Linked DNA regions of Homo sapiens: regions 1 and 2 are each linked to region 3. The links are contacts of gene promoters, found by promoter capture Hi-C in blood cells and fetal thymus (Javierre and others, 2016). All regions are on one chromosome and are shown on one strand. The core of a region is centred on a gene start or on the middle of the fragment in contact, and the rest is flanking DNA. Distances in the headings are between cores, read along the strand shown.

Region 1 (4,538 bases), core at 1,746-4,245, 210 kb after region 3:
GTGGCTGCCTCCCCAGCCTATCCCCGGTCCCCAAGGGTAAACTCACCATGCCGTCTCTTCCCGGGGAGCTGGAGCGGCTGGGCCCAGGGGCCTGACCCTTTCCCGTCTCCCACAGCGTGTAGCGGCCAATGGGTCGGTAGGTTGGGCTGATGATTTCAGGGACTCGTGAGGGAGGGGCCTGGGAGGGCACCTGAGATGCACTGCCCTTGCGACCATAGTTCTCCAGGTAGTCGACCAGGTATTCAGGGCAGCTGGCTGTCTGGTAGAGCCCCTGCAGGGTGCAGAGCTCCTTGCGCGTCCGGGCCAGCATGGGGCTGCGGCCCAGGTTCCTGGGGTCTATCCGGTAGCTATCTGAGGTCCGGAGGCTGGAGAAATCCCGGGCCAGGTCTGATTGGCTGTCCAGCTTCTGGGTTAGGGTCACCCCCTGGTCATAGGCATTGATGGGCAGGTAGCTGAGGCAGTTGTTGGTCACTCCATAAGGGAATCCGCTGCCCCCGCTGAGGCCACTGCCTAAAGGCCGCTCAGTACCCCGGGTCTGGCTCTCTGCCCGCTTACCACCCCCAGTGATGTCGGGTCTCAGCAGGGGGCGGCCCCGGTCATAGTCCAGGAGGGAGGAGGGGCCATAGGTACGGGGACGGGTGAGGAAGCTGCTGGTGGGGACCGGCTTGAAACCAAGTTTCTCCTTCTCCAGTAAGGAGGCAGCCAGATTGGCCCCATAGGAGGACGGGGTGTAGGCACCATAGCCCGACTTGGCATAGTGGGCATCTGTGTAGCGGGCCGATTCTGTGTAGCGCTTCAGGGTGGAGGAGAGCTGGGACATCCTTCAGGGTGGCACTCAGTGGGGACTGGGAGCCTCATGGGCTGAAAGACAAGGAGTGTAGTTGTCAGAGGGCCCTGCCAGGTGTCGGGCTCCCACAGACCTGCTCCCCATCCTCAGCTGGGCCAGAACCTCAGAGCTCCCAGTCCATTTCCACAAGAGGCAGGCTGGCTGCTGAGAAGCACACATGCACGCAGGTGTGCACAGGAGCTTGCTTGCACCTGTGTGTTCACACCTCGGTGAGAGTGCGAGGGATGAGGTGGCTTTTATATGCCACACAGGAAGTCAGCGCATCCTGGCCATTCAAAGACTCAAACACGCAAGCAGGGGCTATCTGACCTCCACAGCCCACCAAGCCGTGCAGTCTTCCAGGTCAAATCCCATTGCCTCAGCATCTGCAGAAACTCTTGAGCTGGGGGAATGCCACTGACCCCTGGGTTGAGAATGCTGGATATTTCAGGAGTTAAGACCACATCTGTCCCTTCTGACTTATGTGATGAGCAGGTGTCTTTTTGGAATCCTAGACTGTCTGTGCTGGAATGACCTGAAGATCATTTGGTCAGATCCCCTGTGAGGCCAAGGAGGCTCAGGGGAGGAAGTAATGGGGTGTGGGTGGGCAGGGGAGGCCGTGAGTGAGCATGCAACAATGAGGGGCCAGAACGTGGTCTCCAGACCCTTTCCCCAGACACCAGCACCTGCTGCATGGTCCCACAGTGAGGGACACTCACTTCACTGAGCTAAGCTTCTGTTCTAAGTGGAGTTAGGGCCCTGTGGCCTCCTAAGAGTTCCTCTACCAACACAGGCTTCCTCTACAAACACAGATCTCAAATTGGTCCTGGCGATGCTTGTGCAAAGGGGGCCCCCTACAGTCCCAAATCTTGCACTGCAGGTGGCATTCCCAGTCCTTCCCTGCTCCAGTCCTGCAGCTGGGGAGGGTCTAGTGAAGGAACACAGACACTGCTGAATGTGGAGCTTTGAGAGCCCCAGAGGATCATGAATTTTAATCTATCTGTTATACAGATGGGAAAAGTGATGCTTATTTGCCCCCGGCCACACACCAGCAGAGCCAGGACTGGAATCCAGGTCTTTAAAATCCTGGCCAGTGTTCTTTCTACTTAACCTGGAGTTACCTCCCCCGCATCAGATTTAGGGTCAGTTGGGGACCCCCAGAGGCCTTCCATCACCGTAAACGTGCAGCCTGTATCCAATGGAGCTGGAGTGGCAGAGGAGCAAGTAGGGTCAGACGCCTTTCCCCGAGGGCATCAGGGGCTCTTGGGGGGCTTTCTAGGGGGATGGAGCAGAGCCATCCAGGACTCTCAGAGTTGTGGGACTTGCCCTGTGATGGACTAGCTGGGTGATTTTGCACTAGTCACGTAACCTCTCTGAGCCCCAACTTCCTCATCTGTAAATGAGTAAAACCATCATCCTCATAATTCCTACCTCACAGGGCTGTTGTGAGGAATAAATGAGATAACAACACGTGAAGGGCTCCACAATGACAGTGGCTACCATCTCCTCCCCCAGCTACTGCGAGGCAGCATGGCTCCGCCCTCTGAAGGTCTGTGATAATATCAGGGCTGGCTGTCTCCCAGCCTGGCCAGCCTCTGGCCTCAGCTTGGGATGCCAGGCCTCCCCCTGCAGCCCCCAGCGAGAGAAACAGGCAGTGGGCAGACATCTGGCCACTCAGCAGACACTGGCTTGGCAACCCAGCCCATTAGGGCAGAGAGGAGCTGGTGCCAAACCCCAAATGCGAGGGCTTGGCAGAAAGCTCTAGAATCCCAGTCCACACAAGGCTTTGGGGTAGGTACAGGGGTGAGAGATGAGCAGGTGGCTTCCATATAGGCCCGGAACAGCATTCCTTGACCCTGCCTGAGAACTCCAGCAGTTTTCAGTCCAGGCTGACATCAGAAAGGCCTGGTCCATCTTACTGTCTAGCCTTTTGCCACCTGGCCCAGGGGGCCCCTGGCCCTTCATGTACACTCCTTTGCCCACTGTGCCCAGCACAACTTTCACCCCTTTCTAGGAAAAGGTAACTGGGGGATGATGTCACACAGCGTTAGAGGGAAACCATAGCGGGAGAGACAGACAGAGGCACAGGGTCGGGGTGGGGGCCCAGTCCTGCCCTATTTTGCTTTGGAGAACTCCATCAATAATGCAAAGTCAAAGAGACTCCAGGTCTCAGGAGCTGGGCTCTGGGACACCAGGCAGCCAATCAGATACAATCCCCCCAACAAGGGTATGAGCTCATGGCTCCTCCCCACAGCTCTCCCTCTCCCTCCCCCACAGTAAGGCTCTCAGGGAATTGGTATTCTTCGGGCAGCGCCCCAAGCCCGTGACATCCCTTGACCCTGCTGATGACGCAGAAGTGCTGGGGCCAAACGAGGTCCAGAGGACAGGGACAGACAGCTCTGAAAGGCTTTGGAGCCGGAGGTGGGGCCACATCTCTGGCCCACAGATTCCCAGGAGGGCTCCCAAATCCCCACTCTCCCTCCCATCTGGCAGGTGATTGCCAGACCCCTCCGCCTCCTCCTAGCAGCCCTGGGAGTCATGCCATCACTAATACTCCATGGAAGCTGCCTCTCGGCTCTGACTTCTAGCTACAGTTCCCATGCCTGCGGAGAGGGTTCCTACTGGGGCCGGGGCCTTCCACATGTCTCTCCCCTCCCGCAACCCCCAGTTTCACTCTCAAAGGTCCTAGCACCTTCCAGGTGAAAGCACAGCCTGGGTTGGTGCCCCTTGGCATTACCTGCACAGCTGTCCCTGGAGGCCACAGAATGCACTATGGGCAGGAGAGCGGGCTGGGGCCCTGGCCGGAGTCTCGCTGCGCAAGACAGGGACAGGACGGGCACTCACGTGGCTGCGAGTCTCCCTGTTGCCACAGGAACAGCCTGAACTGAATGGCCCTTTCATGGGGCAGTGGGAGGCAAGCCAATTGGCTGGGATCCCCCATACCCCTCCCTGCCCAGTGCGGGGGGCCCCTGCTGCCCAGCTCCTTTCACTGTTTACCCAGAGCTGGCAAGTACAGGCATGCAGCTCCAGGCAGCGCCTCTCCAGGTGTCCGCCACCTTGGACAATGGGGGCAGTCCCCTGCCCAGCTCCTCCTCCTGGCCATCTTCACTGAGGTGTCCTGACCCTTCCTTCTCTGTCAGAGATTCCTGTTGCTTTGCTCAGTTTCCCTCTCCTGGGAGGTGCAGCAGAGTTCCTCTGCACAGAGGCACTGGGCTTCCTGTCAGGGCATCTGAGCCAAGCAGCTGTCACCCCAGCTGGCTGGTGCTGATCACCTCTGAACCAGGCCCCAGGCATGTTGAGTACTTCACATGCAGCTTCTGAGTCCATCTTCTCTGCAGTCTCACATCAGCTCTCATCGGCCCTTGCCATGTGACGCATTCTTCTAGATGTGCTTCATACACAGAGCACCCCAAAAAGTCTTAGTGCAGGTTTAAGCTGGGATTCTTTCAGACATAAATGTCTCCAACTTACACACCTCTTTGGACAGATTAAATTATTTAAATTAAAATTTAAAAACATTTTCACAATTAAAAAATAAATATACAAGAAATTTAAATATGGAAACTTTCAAATGAAGTTTTTAGCATTCATATTTCTGAAGTTATTAAAGCTTAAAACTGCACTAAGGCTTGGGACACAGTGCATTAACTCACTGAATCCTCCCTGCTCCTTTAAGCGGTAGGTGCTGTTATCACGTCCATTTGCAGATGAG
Region 2 (4,263 bases), core at 1-2,500, 140 kb after region 3:
CCGTCTGACTGCACTGGTGAAATGGCCACACCCAGAGCCACGGGCATTGGTCAGGAAAAGGTGATGGGACAGGGTCTTTCTCAGTCTTCCTCCAAGCTCCCTCAGCCACTTGCTTGGCCCTGCCATCTGTGAGTAGTGTTAAGAAGGCAAGATGGGGCCTGCTCCCTATCTCTGACAAAGAGGGATGAAGGATAGAGAGAACCGTTAGTCCCTACTGCCCCCGGTCCCTGAGGATGTGGCAGGCTCTGGCCACAGGAACCGCCTCCTACCTGGTCTCCCGGAGCCCTCTTGTCACCGCTGCTGCCCTGCAGGAGGCCCATCTCTTCTGGGAGCTTATCTGACTTAACTTCAACTACAAGTTCGCTCTTACGAGACGGGGGTAGCGTGCTGGGAGGAGGGAGGGAGGTGAGAGGTTGGTATCTCAGGGCCACAGGAAGAGAAGGGCCCGCTGTGAAGGATGTGGAATGGATGAGGGCTCCTTGCTCCAGGGCCAGCCCAGGGCAGGGAAGCAGGTCATGAGACCATGTGGCTGATGGAAGCTGGGCAGTGGGTAGTGGAGCAGGCAGCACCCTGACCCAGGGCCCCACTCCTGCTGTCAAGGGGCAGGCGGGCGCTGGGCAGGCAGCAGGCTGGGTGGCAAAACGGGCGGGGGCGGAGGGGCCGGTGTTGGGCTTACATCTCCTGCTTCCCTGAGCGCCTGCACGGCAGCTTGCCCTTCTTATAGAGGAAATAGAGGACAGCGCCCAGCACCGCCAGGACCAGGATGCACACAATCACAGCCACGATGACCACGCCCCGGCTCTCCGGCTCCGGCAGCTTTCTCTCTGCGCCACAAAGACACTCCTCGTCACTCCCTGCCCCAGGCCACTTCGTCACCATCGTTGGCCCAGCCAGTCCAGGGCCGACAAGATGGGGCTGCTACTCACCTTTCTGGACAGGGCTCTCTGGGGAGGGACAGGGCAGAAAGGATGCCCTGGCACAGCCCTGTTCTCTTGCCAGGCCTGGCTTACCTGTGGAGGTGCTGTTGGCTCTGGTATGAGGACTGGCAGTGGAAGTGCTGAGGCCAGTGGTTGTGTTGGAGTCTGGTGTGAGGGTGGTTAAATTGACTAGGAGGCAGAGGGAGGGGTGTTAGGAGAAGCGCAAGTTACTGCCCGTGCCTGGGCCTGCCCCTGCCATCCCCTGCAGGGATGCAGCCCTCACCCAGCTCCAGGAAGAGGATGCTGGTGTTTTTGCCCAGGTCGTTGGAGGCCGTGCATTCAACACCTGTCTCCAACAGCTCCGGGGTCACGAGGACATTCAGGGTGCTCAGGACTCGCTGTGGATCTTGGTCTTGTTCACTTGCCTGCGAGGAAAGGAAGGAGGCAGCTCAGGGGATGGGGAGGATCTCTGGTCCTGGCCACAAAGCGCAGGCAGGGATTAGGAGAGTGTGGCAGATGAGACACCCGCTCACCGTGCCGTTGACGTTCCAGGAGATGGTGGGCCGGGGGTGCCCTGACGCTTCACAAGACAGATTCAACACCATATTCTCTTTCACCCACACCTTCCTCTCCTTGAATGCCATCCAAGGGGGGCCTTGGGGAGGTAGGGAGAGGTGAGGTGGCAAGCCCAGCTAGCCTGCCTCCCCCTCCGCACCAGAGCTCCCCAGGGCAGCAGGTGGCTTTTTGTCAAAGAGCTTAAAAACCACCCCACTTGGGGTGACCTGGTCTCTACCCAGAGGGAGGGCCTCACCAAAAATGGCCACGTTGACCAGCTGTGTGCGGTTCAGGCCGGGTATGCTGGGCACAGACGCCACGCAGCGATAGCCGCCTCCTGCCTCCCGTTTCAGGTCATGCAACTGAAGCACAGGCCCCCTTTCCAGCACCTGGCCTGTCTGGGATGAGAGATGGGTCAGAGGGTCTGGGAAAGAGCACATTCTTGTCACCGCCAGCCCCACCCACCCCATCAGCCCCTTGCCCCAGACCCGCCTGGGTACCTCTTCTCTCAGCCACTGGAACTCGAGGTCCTGGCTACTCTCTGCCTCACAGGTCAGGGTGAGGCTGCTGCCTTCCTGTCTCTCAGGGGCTGCGGGACTCACTCGGACGTCAGACACATCTGGGGGTACAGCAATCATGTCACCCAGGGCAGGGTGGGGCCAGTTCCCTATTGCCCCAGCCTGGTCCCCCTGTCCTGGGTCCCCAGCCCCTCACAGTTCACCAGTAGTTCCTGTGGTTCACTCAGCAGCGATATCATGGTGTCCAAGTCCAGGCCCTGACATTCATAGCGCCCACTGTGTTCCTTCCGGGCAGGCTCCAGCACCAGGACCCCGTTGTCGTTGGTTGTCTCTTCCTCTGCCTCCCTGGTGCTGGGGTTCTAGGGAGGATTGGGGAGGTGAGCAGAGTGCACCTCCCGCCACTCCACCTGGGTCTCTGCTTGCATCCCCACCTGCACCCAGCACAAAGCCCCCACACCTGCTTGCTGATGCTGAAGTGTGGTGGAGGGTTGCCATCAGCCAAACACCTGATTTCCACGCGGTCCCCTTCCTTCAGCATTCCCACGGGCTCCACTTCCAGCCACACTTTTTCTGTCGGGTCTGCATAGGCAAAGGGGGTAGCTCTTGGCCCATGAGTCAACCCTGGGCTGGATAAGGGGGAGCCAGCAGGAGTTTCCAGCAGCCCCAGCCCCAGTAAGCAGAGAGTCAGGTTAGTACTCACAGAAAACAGGGACGGTGACTTCCCTGGACTCCTTCATGTGGTTCCCACTGGGCAGCCGGTAGTTGAGCTCACAGTAAAACTGGGCATCTTTGTCTTCTTTAACCAGCTGTGCCTTCAGAATACTCTGCAAGGTGTACAAACCACTCGACTCCACAGTCTGGGACGACTGAATGTGGACCCCTGGGCAGGGAGGAAGGGGAGGAAGACTCAGCCTCAGCCCCACCTCCAGCCCCACCCTAGGGTTGTCCACTGGGGTTGGCAGGGGACCATCTAAATAGCCCCCTGTCCCCTGTAGAAGGCCAGGTACAAATGCAAGCTGGAAACCCTTCAACCCAGCACTTTTACTGCTCAGTGTCAACCCTAGAAAAACATTTTCATGTCTGCTCATATCCAAGGATGTGTGCAAAGAATGCTGCAATGATAAAAACGAGCAGCCGTCTAGATGTCCACTAAATGGGGAATGGTGAACTCGACTACCTGCTATGCGTAGTATGGAAAACTTGGCAGTAAGCAAAACGATCAGTTGATCTAAATAGACTGACCCAGAAACATTGTATAAAAGAAATTGTCTAACAATGTATACCATACACCACCACTTAGACCAGGGTTTCTCAGCACTACTGATAATTTTTTTTTTTTTTTTTTCAGACAGAGTTTCACTCTTGTTGCCCAGGCTGGAGTGCAGTGGTACAATCTCGGCTCACCGCAACCTCCACCTCCCTCCCGGCTTCAAGTGATTCTCCTGCCTCAGCCTCCTGAGTAGCTGGGATTACAGACATGCGCCACCACGCCCGGCTACTTTTGTATTTTCAGTAGAGATGGGGTTTCTCCGTGTTGGACAGGCTGGTCTTGAACTCCCGACCTCAGGTGATCCGCCCACCTTGGCCTCCAAAAGTGCTGGGATTACAGGCGTGAGCCCAGCCAGCACTACTGATGTTTTAGGCCACGTTGATTCTTTATTGTGGGGGCTGTCCTGTGCCCTATAGGATGTTAGCAACATCCTTGGTCTCTCTACCTACTAGATGGCAGTAGCACCCCCTCTATGTGTGACAACCAAAAATATCTCCAGACATTGCCAAGTATCTCCTAGGAGGAGGGGGTACAAAATCACCCCTGGTTAAGAATGACTGATTTAGATAATAAAACACAGAAGCCTATATCATTCTAGAAATATTTCTATATATGAGCAAATACATAGAAATAGGCTTGAAAGAACACACCCTGATAGCAGAGATTATTTCTGGGAGGGGGGGTCTCAGGCAAGAAGAAACTTCTAGATTTTTTGTCAGTTTAAATTCTCATGAAAATATTTTCAAGTACCATTTGTATAATTTTTTTAAGTTAAAAGCTTAATGAAAATATAAGGCAGTTCCTGTGTAGTACCATAGGGACAGCTCTTTTTAAGAGATGGGGTCTCGCTCTGTCACCCAGGCCGGAGTGTGGTGGTGCAATCCTAGCTCACTGCAGCCTTCATTTCCTGGGCTCATATGATCCTCCTGCCTCAGCCTCCCAAGTATCTGGGACCACAGGCACACACCACCATGCCTGGCTAATTTTTTTATTTTCTGTAGAG
Region 3 (4,444 bases), core at 1,822-4,321:
GCGGGGTTTCACCATGTAGCCCTGATGATCTCGAACTCCTGAGCTCAGGCAATCCACCCACACTGGCCTCCCAAAGTGCTGGGATTACAGGCGTGAGCCACCACGCCCATCTGATATCATCTTCTTTAACACAGTCACCTTCTCTGTGTCCAGACCTATGCAAAGTGCTGAAGACCAGAGTTGACTAAGACAGTTGTCCATGCAATAATTCTTTTTTTTTGAGACAGGGTCTCGCTCTGTCACCCATGCTAGAGTACAGGGTGCAACCATGGCTTACTGCAGCCTCAACTTCCTGGGCTCAAGCGATCCTCCCATCTCAGACTCTAGAGTAGCTGGGACCGCAGGTGCGTGCCACCATGCCTAGCTAATTTTTTAAAAATTATTTTTGTGGAGTCAGGGTTCTATTATGTTGCCCAAGCTGGTCTCAAACTCCTGGGCTCGAGTGATCCTTCTGCCTTAGCCTCCCAAAGTGCTGGGATTACAGGTGTGAGCAACCACACCCCGGCCTCATGCTATAACTTTTTTTTTTTTTTTTAGACAGAGTCTCACTCTGTAGCCAAGGCTGGAGTGTGTAGTGGCATGATCGCGGCTCACTGCAACCTCTGCCTCCTGGGTTCAAGCGATTCTCCTGCCTCAGCCTCCTGAGTAGCTGGGACTACAGGTGCCTGCCACCAAGCCTGGCTAATTTTTTTGTATTTCTAGTAGAGACGGGGTTTCACCACGTTGGTCAGGCTGGTCTCGAACTACTGACCTCAGGTGATCCACCCACCTCGGCCTCCCAAAGTGCTGGGATTATAGGGTGAGCCACTGCACCGCATCCTAGGTCAGACAACAGAGGACATGCCCACGGCATGACTCACAGTACTTCTGTCTGCAAGAGGCCAGTCAAAGTATATGTTATTAATAAAACCTACATGGTTGTCGTACCCATGGGGAAGGTGACAGGGGAGGAAAACAGATTGCTCTGAGCTGTGTCCAGGAACTGCTGCCAGGTGACTGTCTTGCATGGCTAGGTAAGTGGAATGAAGCTAGAGGAGATTACCAGGCCCAAACTGTCACCCATGAGACTACATTCATGGGGTTCCTATACTTCCCCTCCCACATCCTATTCTACTCCCCTTGAAGAACCTCTTTTAAAATGCAAATGTGTTGTTCACCCTGCTGCTGGGATGCCCTGCCTTTCCTTTCTCTGATTTATTTATTTATTGAGACAGGGTCTCTCTCTGTTGCCCAGGTTGGAGTGCAGTGGTGCAATCTTGGCTCACTGCAACCTCCGCCTCCCAGGTTCAAGCAATTCTCCTGCTTCAGTCTCCTGAGTAGCTGTGATTATGGGCATGTGCCACCATGCCCAGCTAATTTTTTGTGCTTTTGTTTTTATTTTTGAGACACGGTTTTGCTTTATCTCCCAGGCTAGAGTGCAGTGGCATGATCTCGGCTCACTGCAACCTCTACCTCCCAAGTTCAAGCAATTCTTGTGCCTCAGCCTTCTGAGTAGCTGGTACTACAGGCCCATGCCACCACGTCTGGTTGATTTTTTTTTTTTTTTTGATACAGAGTCTTGCTCTGTCTCCCAGGCTGGAATGCAGTGGCGTGATCTTGGCTCACGGCAACCTCCGCCTCCTGGATTCAAGCGATTCTCCTGCCTAAGCCTCCTGTGTAGCTGGGACTGCAGGCATGCACCACCCAGCCCGGCTAATTTTTGTATTTTTAGTAGAGATGAGGTTTCACCACGTTGCCTAGGTTGGTCGTGAACTTCTGAGCTCAGGCAATCCGCCTGCCTTGGCCTCCCAAAGTGCTAGGATTACAGGCATGAGCCACCATGCCTGGCCAATTTTTGTTATTTTTAGTAGAGACGGGGGTTTCACCATGTTGGCCATGGTGACGAGTTTGAGCTGGTCCCAAACTCCTGGCCTCAGGAGATCTGCCCTCACCCCCAGCCTTCCAAAGTGCTGAGATTACAGGTGTGAGCCACCGCGGCTGGTCCTCTGATTTATTTTTTCAGATCCAGTACAAATGTTACCTCCTCTGCACTCCCTTTTCCAGACTCTCCTAATGCCTTGCCTCTGCCACTGAAGTACATCATTTGTTTGTCTGTTTTTTATATTTTTATTTTCTATTTTCATTTTAAATAGAGACAGGGTCTCACTATGTCACCCAGGCTGGTCTCAAACTCCTGGTCTCAAGTGATCCTCCTGCCTCGGCCTTGAAGTACATCATTTGTAAATGTGGTAGTTGATTCCATTAAAGTGAGGTGCCTGCCTTGCTGTGGTTGGCAGCCCAGGGCCTAGTGCTGGACCTGGCTTGTGGGGGTGAGGTGCTCAGTGCTACCCAATACCACAGTACAACGAATGAACAAATGTCTAAATGAAACATCCACATTGTTTTCAGTAAGTCCTCTTCCCAGCCCTGCCCTGGAGAGCCTCTCTGTGGGTGCCCTAGTGCACAGCTCTGTTGTGTGAACATCGTACACTCATGCTTGCATACGAAGGCGTGCCCTGGCTGTGGGTGGTGGGTGGCTCCTCCTTCTGGGCTACGTGAGCCCAGGGTGTGGAAGTGTGTGGAAGTGTAGGGATAAGGGTGGGGGCTTTGGGAACTGGGAAGCCCCAGGGCTAGGCCATGAATGGGTGTCAGACCCGAAGAGCAGGTTGGGGTGCAAGTTGTCCTTCAGCCCCCATTCTTCCTTCTTTCTTAACCAAGGTTACCAGCAGCCACACACATAGGTCTGGGCTCTGAAGAGGACCGGATACATAAGGCAGAACCCAAGGAAGCCTTAGGCTCAGGTCTCTGCCTGAAGGTAGGCTGGGGAGGCGGAGAGGGACAGAGGGAAGAATCCCCTGGACACCGCGCCTCAGGGAGGCCCAGGGGTAAGGTAGGAAGACTCAGGCCCGGGATGTTGTTCTGGCTCATCCACTTCCTAACTGAATCAACCTGCACAAGTCATTTCACCCTTCTGAGCATCAGTTTCTTCATCTGTAAAATGGGCCTAACAAGCAGCCCAGCCTGGGAGGTGGTTAGTGAGGTCACTGGGTGTCACTGGCGCTTGGGAACCTGCAGAGGGCAGTACTAGCGGCAGTGCCCGCGGGGATGGAGGCAGGGAGGGGGGACGATGGCGGGACGGGTGGCGCCGGGGTTCCAGCCCTGCGCCTGCTCCGGAGCACCGGGCCCCTCTCGCTGACCCCCTCGTCCCAGGACCCCGCAGGCCCGAGTGCCTGGGCTCGTCCTCTTTCGCGCCCGCTGCCAGGTGCCAGGGCCGCGCAGGCGGGCGGAGGTGGGCAGGAAGCGCCACGCCGAGGAGCCGGGGACTCTGGGAGCTAGCGGGAGACGCCGGCGTCCGCCCAGCCGACCCCTCTGGGCCGCGGCCGACGGCTCCCGGAACTGGGCAGCCGCGGGTAAAGGCCTAGCGGGCTTGATAACCCCTGCGCCCTGGCTGGGAGGCCGCGCTGAGCGGGGGGCAGGGCGGGCCGGGGGAGGAGGCTGTGCAAGGGCCGCGGGGAGATCCCGGCCGAGAACGAGAGGGACGGAGCTGGGCGCTGAATGGCGGGCGTTCTGGCAAGTCTCCCCCTGCGTTCCCGAGGCCACCCGAAAGTAGGAGAGCTGTTTGGGACCCAGTTTGGTGGAGGAGCTCTGGACCTGTAGGAACACCGCCCCTGTACGTTTCCTGCAGTGCCCCCTCCTTTTCTCATTGCCCTGGAGACCTGGGTGATCACCGGAGAACTGCCCTCGGCCCCGCAAGTCCCGTCTTGACTCAGTGGCCCTAGATCCGAGGTTAAACCGGAACCTAGGCTTTCTCAGGCTTCTGGAGCCCTCTCTTAACCCTTCCGCAGCCCCTGGGACGGGCCAGCACCCAGCCAGCTCCTCCGCTGGTTGGCCCTGCTAAGGCAGGTGGCCCAATGCAGCCAGTTCTCCTTAAGCGTACCCTGCCCAAGAAGCCCCGATCTCAGTGGAGGAGACCAGGTGCCAAATAGGGGCACATTCCATTTAAGTGAGTTCAGAGGCCTCAGAAAAGACTTCCCAGGGACGGAGACTTTTGAGCAGGATCTTAAAAGATTGGTTGGGGCCCGAGTGGTGGCTCGCGCCTGCAGTCCCCGCACTTTGGGAGGGCAAGGCGGGCGGATCACTTGAGCCCAGGAGTTCGAGACCACCCTGGGCAACAATGGTGAAAACCCCGTCTCTACAAAAACCAAAGCCAAAAATTAGCCAGGTGTGGTGGCACACCACTTTAGTCCTAGCTACTCAGGAGGCTGAAGCAGGAGGATGGCTTGAGCCCAGGAGGTAGAGGTTGCTGTGAGCTGAGATCGTACTACTGCACTCCAGCCTGGGCAACAGAGCGAGAGACCCTGTCTCAGGAAAAAAAAAAAAAAAAAAAAAAAAAAAAAAAAAATTGGTTGGGACTCTAACAGAGGAAAAAGGTCATTCCAAACTGGGAAGAGTGTATGAACAAATT

Evidence for each region. The method cuts DNA at HindIII sites, captures the fragments that hold promoters and counts their contacts. A CHiCAGO score of 5 or more calls a contact.
Region 1: a fragment that was not itself captured here is called in contact with the fragment with the promoter of NLRX1 in region 3 in 3 of 17 cell types (endothelial precursors, megakaryocytes and M2 macrophages); the score reaches 6.5 in endothelial precursors.
Region 2: a contact is called between a fragment that was not itself captured here and the fragment with the promoter of NLRX1 in region 3, in 1 of 17 cell types (fetal thymus). The highest score is 5.5, in fetal thymus.

The regions. Positions count from the first base shown.
Region 1 is chr11:119,372,661-119,377,198 of GRCh38, forward strand. USP2 (ubiquitin specific peptidase 2) reads right to left here. Exons shown (of 13, transcript NM_004205.5): 2 at 47-861. The coding sequence starts at 820. Among named protein-coding and RNA genes, the nearest start is that of USP2, 6.8 kb to the right of the region's middle. RefSeq lists enhancers at 300-800, 3,667-4,245. The HindIII fragment of the contact is 2,877 bases long and covers 1,558-4,434 here.
Region 2 is chr11:119,310,080-119,314,342 of GRCh38, forward strand. It overlaps MCAM (melanoma cell adhesion molecule), which reads right to left. Exons shown (of 16, transcript NM_006500.3): 6 at 2,691-2,870; 7 at 2,448-2,569; 8 at 2,187-2,349; 9 at 1,973-2,091; 10 at 1,729-1,870; 11 at 1,451-1,572; 12 at 1,201-1,342; 13 at 1,011-1,106; 14 at 677-824; 15 at 270-387. MIR6756 (microRNA 6756) reads right to left here and starts at 2,933; the gene lies at 2,871-2,933. The HindIII fragment of the contact is 5,572 bases long and covers 1-4,036 here.
Region 3 is chr11:119,165,654-119,170,097 of GRCh38, forward strand. NLRX1 (NLR family member X1) reads left to right here and starts at 3,072. Exons shown (of 10, transcript NM_001282144.2): 1 at 3,072-3,649. RefSeq lists a silencer at 2,981-3,590 and enhancers at 3,162-3,867, 3,868-4,444. The HindIII fragment of the contact is 14,996 bases long and covers 1-4,444 here.